Regions from separate parts of the Homo sapiens genome. Here region 1 is linked to region 2. The links are contacts of gene promoters, found by promoter capture Hi-C in human tissues and cell types (Jung and others, 2019). All regions are on one chromosome and are shown on one strand. The core of a region is centred on a gene start or on the middle of the fragment in contact, and the rest is flanking DNA. Distances in the headings are between cores, read along the strand shown.

Evidence for each region. The method cuts DNA at HindIII sites, captures the fragments that hold promoters and counts their contacts. A contact is called where the count stands out against the background at its distance.
Region 1: a fragment that was not itself captured here is called in contact with the fragment with the promoter of TXNDC2 in region 2 in 1 of the 25 tissues and cell types used here (mesenchymal stem cells).

Annotation. Positions count from the first base shown.
Region 1 is chr18:9,512,647-9,517,831 of GRCh38, forward strand. It overlaps RALBP1 (ralA binding protein 1), which reads left to right. Exons shown (of 10, transcript NM_006788.4): 2 at 345-643; 3 at 4,199-4,657. The coding sequence starts at 400. Among named protein-coding and RNA genes, the nearest start is that of RALBP1, 40 kb to the left of the region's middle. The HindIII fragment of the contact is 7,271 bases long and covers 1-5,185 here.
Region 2 is chr18:9,883,716-9,889,070 of GRCh38, forward strand. It overlaps TXNDC2 (thioredoxin domain containing 2), which reads left to right and starts at 2,258. Exons shown (of 2, transcript NM_032243.6): 1 at 2,258-2,365; 2 at 2,874-5,355. The coding sequence starts at 2,966. The coding sequence ends at 4,426. The HindIII fragment of the contact is 24,551 bases long and covers 1-5,355 here.

The DNA.
Region 1 (5,185 bases), core at 573-3,072, 370 kb before region 2:
TGTTTAGTCATAAAGCAAAATAGTAAGATTTTATGTTGGGGAGCAGTCAAAATGAAGCACTTTAGAATGATGAGTGGTTTTTTTTTTTTAAGGAATTCCATATTCTACTTTGAGAACTCTACCTCTGATTTTCATTTGATTTATTTTTTGAATACTCGAAGATCCCAGTGCTTTCAACCCTGAGAACTGAAATGTGTGATGCATGGAATATATCTCGAGACAATAAAATGAAAGAGTTTTTTACAAGGGGGTTTGTGGAGAAAATATTTTTGATTTGTAAATGCTGTGGTGTTTTTGTTCCTTGGTGTTAGGTGACTCTGCTAATGTTTTTTCTCTTGGTGCAGGTGTAATGGATAGGTAACAGAGAAGACCTCGTCCCTTCCTAGTCAGGGCATCAGCATGACTGAGTGCTTCCTGCCCCCCACCAGCAGCCCCAGTGAACACCGCAGGGTGGAGCATGGCAGCGGGCTTACCCGGACCCCCAGCTCTGAAGAGATCAGCCCTACTAAGTTTCCTGGATTGTACCGCACTGGCGAGCCCTCACCTCCCCATGACATCCTCCATGAGCCTCCTGATGTAGTGTCTGATGATGAGAAAGATCATGGGAAGAAAAAAGGGAAATTTAAGAAAAAGGAAAAGAGGAGTAAGTGCCATTTTTTCCTATGCCTAGATATTTTTATTTTATTTTATTTTACTTTATTTTATTATTATTTTTTGGGACAGAGTCTTGCTCTGTTGCCCAGGTTGGAGTGCAGTAGCACAATCTCAGCTCACTGCAACCTCCGCCTCGAGGTTCAAGCAATTCTCATGTCTTAGTCTCCCGAATAGCTGGGACTACAGGCGTGCGCCACCATGCCCAGCTAATTTTTGTGTTTTTAGTAGAGACAGGGTTTTGCCGTGTTGGCCAGGCTGGTCTTGAACTCCTGACCTTAAGTGATCTACCCACCTCGGCCTCCCACAGTGCTGGGATTACAGGCGTGAGCCACTATGCCTGTCCTAGATATATTTTAAATAAACTTCCACTCTAATTACATGTACCAGCTGTCTTCTGGAAACATGTGAAGGCAGAGATTCTTGTTTGACTTTTCTGTTCTTTATTTTTCAGGGTCTCAGTTTTTGTATATTAGAGTTGTATTTTGGGATCTTAATCTCACAAATAAAAATACTGAGTTTCCAGAAATGGAAAAGTTTTCTAGCGGATATTTCCTGAAGTAATAACTCAAAATGATGTCTAGAAAGATATTAAGCTGGCCACAGTGGCTTACGCCTATAATCCCAGCACTTTGGGAGGCTGAGATGGGAGGATTGCTTGAAGTCAGAAGTTCAAGAGCCTGAGAAACAAAAATTTAAACCATTAGCTGAGCATGGTGATGTGTGCCTGTAGTCACAGCCGCTTAGGAGCCTAGGAGATTGAGGCTGCAGTGAGCTATGCTTGCACCACTGTAGTCCAGCCTGGGTGACAGAGTGAGACTCTGTCCTCTCCTCCGCTGACGCCCCACCCAAAAAAAGGTAGATACTGGAATTTTCCCCTTAAGGCATCTTACTTTTCTTGGGTAGGTCGTGTTCGCTATTTGGGATACACTTTTTTGGAACCTTCAATAAAGTAGCTATTTATCTTAAGCAAATACCATGATACATTCCATTTGAGGTCCTATTCAGTAGGGAGGATGAATCATTTGAGCGTGGCTTTTTAGTATGTTAAAAGCAAATAAAGTGAGTTATGTTAAGTATTCCTTATTTTGAACTTCATGACATTTTAAATTGATTTGTTTTTGAAGAATTACACAGAGTACACAAATTGTATACAACTTGATGAGTGGGTATGCCTGTGTAACCACTACAAGGATCTGGAAATAGAGCATTATCAATTTTCTTTTGTGCCTCTTTAAAGGGAATCACCTACCCCTCCCATAAGTAAACTTCTTTTATTGTTGATTGATGCTGCCTGATTTTAAACTTACGCATACTTCTATTTGTGTCTAGCTTCTTTTACCCAATATTATATGTTAAAAGTAAAACTTTTAGACAAACTAAATTTAATGGGTTTTTTTTCTTTTGTGTTTTTATTTTGAGACAGAGTCTTGCTCTGTTGCTCAGGCTGTAGTGCAATAGTGTGATCACGGGTCACTGCAACCTCTGCCTCCCAGGTTCAAGTGATTCTCCTGCCTCAGCCTCCCAAGTAGCTGGGATTACAGGCACCCGCCACCATGCCTGGCTAATTTTTGTATTTTTAGTAGAGACAGGGTTTCACCATGTTGGTGAGGCTGGTCTCAAACTCTTGACCTCAAGTGATCTGCCCACCTCAGCCTCCCAAAGTGCTGGGATTACAGGTGTGAGCCACCCTGCCTTGCCAGTTTAACAGAGTTTAATTGAGCAAAGAACGATTAGGGAATCCAGTAGCCCCTAAACCAGAATAGATTTAGAGCGACTCTGGGGCTGCCACATGGTCACGTAATATTTATGGACGGAAAATGTAAAGTGACACACAGAAAACAGAAGTGAGGTACATAAACAGCTGGATTGGTTATAGCATGGCATTAGCCTTATTTGAGCAGTTTGAACAGTTGCCCCCCTGTGATTGGCCAAAACTCTGTAATTGGTACAAGAGTAGATTACAGTCTGTGTACACATCCAGTTAGGTTACAGTTCCCTATGTTCGGAGAAACCTTTAGGCCAAACTTAAAATACATGAGGAGGCAGCTTTAACCTAACATGTTTGTTAGATTGATTCATGTTATTCCATGTGGCAGTAATTTGTTCATCTTTGCACTAGATATTGTTTCATTGCATTATATGTTAGAGTTTATTAATCTCTTCTACTTTTGTTGCTTGTTTGGGTGGTTTTCAGTTTTTGACTGTTATGAATAGTGCTTCTGTGGTGTACATGTTTTTGTATTTCTGTTATGTTTATGCCTGGGAGTGGAATTGCTCATTTGTAGGCCATGTGTATTTCAGCTTCAGTAGATCCCTGCAAAACAGTCTTCCAGAATGCTTGTACCAGTTTACCTTCTCACCAGCAATGTATGAATATTCCACTTGCTAAAGCATCATGGTATTTTGTCCTTAAGATTCTTGCCATTCTGGTTGGTGTGGGGTACATGGTATTTTAGTTAGAGGGTAACTTAGGAAATAGCTGTTATCTTTTATATAATAGCTTGCAAGGTAGCTAGCTAAGGAAAAGAATTAGGAGAGTTACAGATATTAAAAAAAAAAACAACAAAACCAAACTATGACAACTCTGACATGGTTGGTAAAGCAATTGGGCACATTTGTCAGTGTGTGAAAAACCAGAGGTTTCTGATGCAGGGAAGTGGGCCCAGTGGATTTGGCCACCATCTAAAGATGAGGGAATTTCTCAGTTCAATCCTCTACTTAAAAGAGTCTGCAGTTCCTGCTGCAGTCTCCATAAAGAACTTAGCAGCTGGTGACAGGAGAGTGAAGTGTCATAGGAGAATAACTGAAACACATAAACAGTAGTGCAGTTCGTCATTCTCTGAGATTGCCTAAAGTTATAGGCTAGGCAGCACTTAGCTGGAAAAGCTAGGGTAGGTAAAGTGAACACAGGTTGAGTATCCCTATTCCGAAAATCCAAAATGCTACAAAATCTGAATCTTTTTGAGCACTGGCATGACACTTGGAGGAAATGCTCATTGGAGCATTTTGGATTTCAGATTTTTTGGGTTAGAGATGTTGAACTGGTATAATGCAAATATCCAGAAAAATCTGAAATTTGAAACACTTCTGGTCTCAAGTATTTCAGATAAGGGATACTCAACCCGTAGTATGTTAGAGGACACGACTCACGTGATGAAAGGATGCTCGGTCTACTTTAGAAAAGGATTCATTCCATTAGCCCTCTATGTAGAGCCTTTCAGGTGTATCTCTAATGTTTGGTTTGCCTGAATTCCACTTACACACATATGTAATATAAACCCTGTTTCCCCTCCTAATATTGTAAGGATGGTAACTGCTATCTATTTGTCCCCCTCTTGTGGTCAAGAGATGTCACTGCAACATCTCTTTTTGAGAAGAAACCCATTTCTTTGCTGGGAGTGCCCAGGAGGAATTGGCCAAGAAGTGAAAAGCTAGATTAGCTGGTGCCAGGTGGCACCGTTTTTTGGTTCTGTTTTTAGAAAGCATATGGACAGTTTGACATTAAACAAACATATAACTTATACTGTCTCTGTTTCTTTGGCAGCTGAAGGCTATGCAGCCTTTCAGGAAGATAGCTCTGGAGATGAGGCAGAAAGTCCTTCTAAAATGAAGAGGTCCAAGGGAATCCATGTTTTCAAGAAGCCCAGCTTTTCTAAAAAGAAGGAAAAGGATTTTAAAATAAAAGAGAAACCCAAAGAAGAAAAGCATAAAGAAGAAAAGCACAAAGAAGAAAAACATAAAGAGAAGAAGTCAAAAGACTTGACAGCAGCTGATGTTGTTAAACAGTGGAAGGAAAAGAAGAAAAAGAAAAAGCCAATTCAGGAGCCAGAGGTGCCTCAGATTGATGTTCCAAATCTCAAACCCATTTTTGGAATTCCTTTGGCTGATGCAGTAGAGAGGACCATGATGTATGATGGCATTCGGCTGCCAGCCGTTTTCCGTGAATGTATAGATTACGTAGAGAAGTATGGCATGAAGTGTGAAGGCATCTACAGAGTATCAGGTACTGGGAATGTGCACTTCACTTGATGGTTTTTAATAATAACTTCAGTTTCATTTTTCGAAGGAAGAAAAATTATTGTGAGGAAAATTTGGCCTGGATCCTAAGCCTTATTCATTTCCTTGATCCTACCAGTTGCACAAAAATCCACCCCTCTCCCCAGCCTTTCTTTGGTGTTCTGGCATTTGTTTTTTTAATATTTCCTTCCATTAGGAGGATTTCACGTTAGTTGTTCATAGCTTGCAGCAGCCAGGACTAAAACAAAGTGAAGTATACTGGCAGCATTGCTTAACAGGGCTGCATTCAGACCCTGCTTTTTTTTTTCTTTTGTTTGTTTGTTTTTTTGAGACAGAGTCTCGCTCTGTTGCCCAGGCTGGAGTGCAGTGGCGTGATCTCGGCTTACTGCAACCTCTGCCTCCTGGGTTCAAGCGATTCCCCTGCCTCAGGCTCCTGAGTAGCTGGGATTACAGGCGCCTGCCGCCACACCCAGCTAATTTTTGTATTTTTAGTAGAGGCAGGGTTTCACCATGT
Region 2 (5,355 bases), core at 1,008-3,507:
TTTTGAGAGAGTCTTGCTCTGTTGCTCAGGCTAGAGTGCAGTGGCACCATCTCCGCTCACTGCAACCTCTGCTTCCCAGGTTCAAGCGATTCTCCTGCCTCAGCCTCCTGAGTAGCTGGGATTACAGACATTTGTCACCACATCCGGCTAACTTTCGTATTTTTAGTAGAGATCTAAAATCGCATTTTTAGTAGAGTAGCACATCTGATTAGTATCTGTGCTGGCAATCAACCTGGAGAAAGGAGGCCGGGACACAGGCATCTGTCCTCTTGCCTCCACATCTACTGGGATGGCAGGAGTGATGTTTTCACTTCTGCCTCTCAGCGATGGAGTTCCTCTGTGTCCTCATCCACTCCCTTCCAAACAGCAGGGACCCTGTACAAGATAGGGTCCCAGGAAGTAAATTAACTTACCAATGAGCAAGGGCCAAAGATGCTGCCCACTTTGTGCTAATAAAATCTGCTCATGATGGTTTCTGCAAATGATGCCTATCCTCCCCGCTTCACCTCCTTTCTCCTAACACTAAGAAAGAAGACATTGCCCAGATAAGTGCCTGACGTTTATTTTCATCCTCTGCTTTAAAATAGGGCACCATGAAAAACAGTCCTGTCAGCTGTGGAAGCCGTTGGCATTGGAGAGTGAAGACAACCTCCCGTCCTTTAAAATATCACATAAGAAAGGCCCAAAGTCTCCCAGTGAGAGAGGGAAGAGCTTTCTTTGGCAGTAACCGAGGAAACGGAGTGGAAGCATGAGCTCTTCCTGGAACAGGATTCATATCATCAAGAACTACGGATTTGCTGGGCCAGGCATGGTGGCTCACGCCTGTAATCCCAGCAATTTGGGAGGCTGAGGCAGGTGGATCGTTTGAGGTCAGGAGTTAGAGACCAGCCTTGCTAACATGGTGAAACCCTGTCTCGACTAAAAAAAATACAAAAATTAGCCGGGTGTGGTGGTGAATGCCTGTAATCCCAGCTACTCGAGAGGGTGAGGCAAGAGAATTGCTTGAACCTGGGAGATAGAGGTTGCAGTGAGTCGAGATTGTGCCACTGCACTCCAGCCTCGGTGACAGGGCAAGACTGTCTCAAAGAAAAAAAAAAAAGGAACTATGGATTTGCTAAGGCCAATAGTCTCTCTACCCCTTAGTAAAATGTGTTTTGGTATAAAAATCCAGATAATTGAACCATTGCCATTAGATGTTTCGAGGTTTCTATTGACAATGTGGAGGTCTTATCATTTAGATTTCAACACTTTTATTTTTAGTTTTTAGAGACGGGGCCTTGCTCTGTTGCCCAGGCTAGAGTACGATGTAGTGATCACGGCTCACTGCAGTCTTGAACTCACTGGCTCAAGCAAGCCTCCCACCTCAGCTTCCCAAGTAGCTGGGACAGGCGTGTGCCACTGTGCCTGGCTAGGTTTTGTATTTTTTGTAGAGATGGGGTCTTGCTATGTTGCCTAGGCTGATCTCAAACTCCTGGGCTCAAGAAATCCTCCCACCTTGGCCTCCCAAAGTACTGAGATCACGGTGTGAGCCACCATGCCTGACCACTTTCAACACTTATATTGTTGGGGTGAAACTGAAACATATGAGGATTTGTTCAAAGTACATGTAGAGAAGGCAAAATTCCACACTGATTCTTCCTGCCTTGGACTGGATGTGTTGTGCAGAGTGAGGGTGGAAAATGAGCCAGTGGTCCTGAACTAATAAAATAAGTCTCCCTGGGGGACAGGTATTTGGCTTCCCATTCCACAGGATGGGGTAGATGTGGCTTATGGAACCAGGATTATTCACAAAGAGGTTGTTCTCCTGTATGTAAAGGCTGGAAGAGCCGTGTACTTGGATGTGTCTGCATGGGGGAGGGCACAGGCTGGGCTGGTGCGCCTGGGAGGTGGGGGAGGTGGGGAAAGAGGCTGTCTAGCAGGAGCTGAACATTTGACATTGTGGGACACTTTGCAGAGGAGGCTAACATGGTTTCGAGGAGATACTTAGGAGCTGGTCACAATGGGTGAGTCGTAAAGAGAATGTTGGAGCTGGGGGATCCTGGAGAAAGATGATAAGATGGTTGATTCACAGAACCCAGGCTGGACGGGACTTGTGGCGAGCAGTCCAGCACAGCCTCACAGTGCAGAGCATGAGCTTTGGAGCCTGCCCCCACCCTAGCTTTGTGACCTTAAGTGAGCTACATAGCTTCTCATGTGTAAACTACTCATCATAATGGTTCTGACCTCAGTGGTTTGTTGTGTTCTAGGAAATGATGCCAGTGAATGCGTAGTCCCAGCCTCAGCACAGGGGAGCCACCTTGAAGCTCTCAAATATCACTGTTGTGAATACAGAGAGGGAAAACCAACTGTAACGTGCCACCCAAATGTAAGTTTTACTCATATTTTGATGTTAGGATGGATAGCTTGGAAAAAGTTGGAGGGTACGGCCTTTACTATGAGGCATCTATGAAGGATCAGGAATGGATGTAGACAAGGAACTAGGAATGGAAAGTGTTAAAGCTGGAGCCTCTGGAAAACCAGAAATGAGGCTGGGCACTCAGGAAGAAACAAGTGAAGGTGATGCTAATGGTAAGTAGGGGAGGAAAGAGGGTTGCCTTAAAGACCTATGCAGTTAGGGAGCGGGCAGGGTGTTGAACCAAGAAGGGAAAGTTGTAGCTTAAGAACATGTATACAGAAGATACGTGTAACCACACGCTGTTTGTCCTTCTGCTGAATGAGTTTTTCAGATTAATACATCATTCATCAGACTTCATTCGTGATCTCGAAGAGTGACATCAGTCTTCCTTGGAATATGAAGAGAATTTCTTTGGTTCTTCTTTTGCATTTCTATTTGATTTATTTTATTTTATTTTATTTTATGTTTTTTGGTACAGAAAGCTCATTACTAGTCCTGTCCAGCAACGTGCCTCTCCTGGCCCTAGAGTTCTTGGAAATAGCCCAGGCCAAAGAGAAGGCCTTTCTCCCCATGGTCAGCCACACGTTCCACATGCGCACAGAGGAGTCTGATGCCTCACAGGAGGGCGATGACCTACCCAAGTCCTCAGCAAACACCAGCCATCCCAAGCAGGATGACAGCCCCAAGTCCTCAGAAGAAACCATCCAGCCCAAGGAGGGTGACATCCCCAAGGCCCCAGAAGAAACCATCCAATCCAAGAAGGAGGACCTCCCCAAGTCCTCAGAAAAAGCCATCCAGCCCAAAGAGAGTAACATCCCCAAGTCCTCAGCAAAACCCATCCAGCCCAAGCTGGGCAATATTCCCAAGGCCTCAGTGAAGCCCAGCCAGCCCAAGGAGGGTGACATCCCCAAGGCCCCAGAAGAAACCATCCAATCCAAGAAGGAGGACCTCCCCAAGTCCTCAGAAGAAGCCATCCAGCCCAAAGAGGGTGACATCCCCAAGTCCTCAGCAAAACCCATCCAGCCCAAGCTGGGCAATATTGCCAAGACCTCAGTGAAGCCCAGCCAGCCCAAGGAGAGTGATATCCCCAAGTCCCCAGAAGAAACCATCCAGCCCAAGGAGGGTGACATCCCCAAGTCCTCAGCAAAGCCCATCCAGCCCAAGCTGGGCAATATTCCCAAGGCCTCAGTGAAGCCCAGCCAGCCCAAGGAGGGTGACATCTCCAAGTCCCCAGAAGAAGCCATCCAGCCCAAGGAGGGTGACCTCCCCAAGTCCCTAGAGGAAGCCATCCAGCCCAAGGAGGGTGACATCCCCAAGTCCCCAGAAGAAGCCATCCAGCCCAAGGAGGGTGACATCCCCAAGTCCCTAGAGGAAGCCATCCAGCCTAAGGAGGGTGACATCCCCAAGTCCCCAGAAGAAACCATCCAGCCCAAGAAGGGTGACATCCCCAAGTCCCCAGAAGAAGCCATCCAGCCCAAGGAGGGTGACATTCCCAAGTCTCCAAAACAAGCCATCCAGCCCAAGGAGGGTGACATTCCCAAGTCCCTAGAGGAAGCCATCCCACCCAAGGAGATTGACATCCCCAAGTCCCCAGAAGAAACCATCCAGCCCAAGGAGGATGACAGCCCCAAGTCCCTAGAAGAAGCCACCCCATCCAAGGAGGGTGACATCCTAAAGCCTGAAGAAGAAACAATGGAGTTCCCGGAGGGGGACAAGGTGAAAGTGATCCTGAGCAAGGAGGACTTTGAGGCATCACTGAAGGAGGCCGGGGAGAGGCTGGTGGCTGTGGACTTCTCGGCCACGTGGTGTGGGCCCTGCAGGACCATCAGACCATTCTTCCATGCCCTGTCTGTGAAGCATGAGGATGTGGTGTTCCTGGAGGTGGACGCTGACAACTGTGAGGAGGTGGTGAGAGAGTGCGCCATCATGTGTGTCCCAACCTTTCAGTTTTATAAAAAAGAAGAAAAGGTGGATGAACTTTGCGGCGCCCTTAAGGAAAAACTTGAAGCAGTCATTGCAGAATTAAAGTAAACATGTATTCTGAAAACATTGCAGACAGTCAGGTGTTTATAGCTTTTGAGTTCTCTTTTATTATTTACACAAAGTGATCAGGTATAACAAAAGTGTATGTCCAAATGGCACTGCTTGTACATGATAATATTAACTCTACCCTTTTCAAAAAACAGTCCAAGCATTAAAGTACATTGCGACTGTGTTTCTGTTAGTGGGAGAGTATAAAATTAGAAATTCCCATGGTGAAGACTGCTAAGTCCCATGGTTTCCTATTTTTCAATCTTGATATGTATTTATTTTTCACTTGTCTTTGAAAATTTCACGCATTTAGTGTTTGCAGCAAGACTGAAAATTTAGATAATTTTTCTATAGAGGTAGATGACTGAAAGGTGAATGGAAACTTCTTTTCTCATGTCACACATCTTTGGGGATTCTGATAAGATATGTTTGGAAATAAGGAATTTGAAAGATTCACATCTTAGCTAACCTCCTTCTTGTGCCGGAAGTGCTACGGAGGCCTTGGGAAATTCAGTGGGTTTTCCAAGATCTGATTTGTTGGTGACGGAAATGAGATCAAGGCCGCTTCCAGATTTCAAGTCCAGGGCTCTACCTACTATAATCTACGCTCACAAAATCTCAGACAAGAGGTCGGAACTTCAGGTTTCTCGGAGGTTGAAGTCCTCTGGATCTTTGCTGCCTTTATGACATCAGTGCCCTGATGGCAGAGTTCCTGGTTCGTCTCCCTGGTAATTGAGTTCATAATACCTAGACCTTCCTCTGACTTTTTTACTTAAATTTGTTCTTATTTTCAATATTGAACAAGCCAGCCTTTAACATGACTCTACCAGCTTAGACATATAGGCCTAGACTTTAATGAATTAACCTAATCACAGTGCTACCAGAGTCTTGTTTGGACAACTTAGTGAGCCCCAGATGTCTATGAGCCC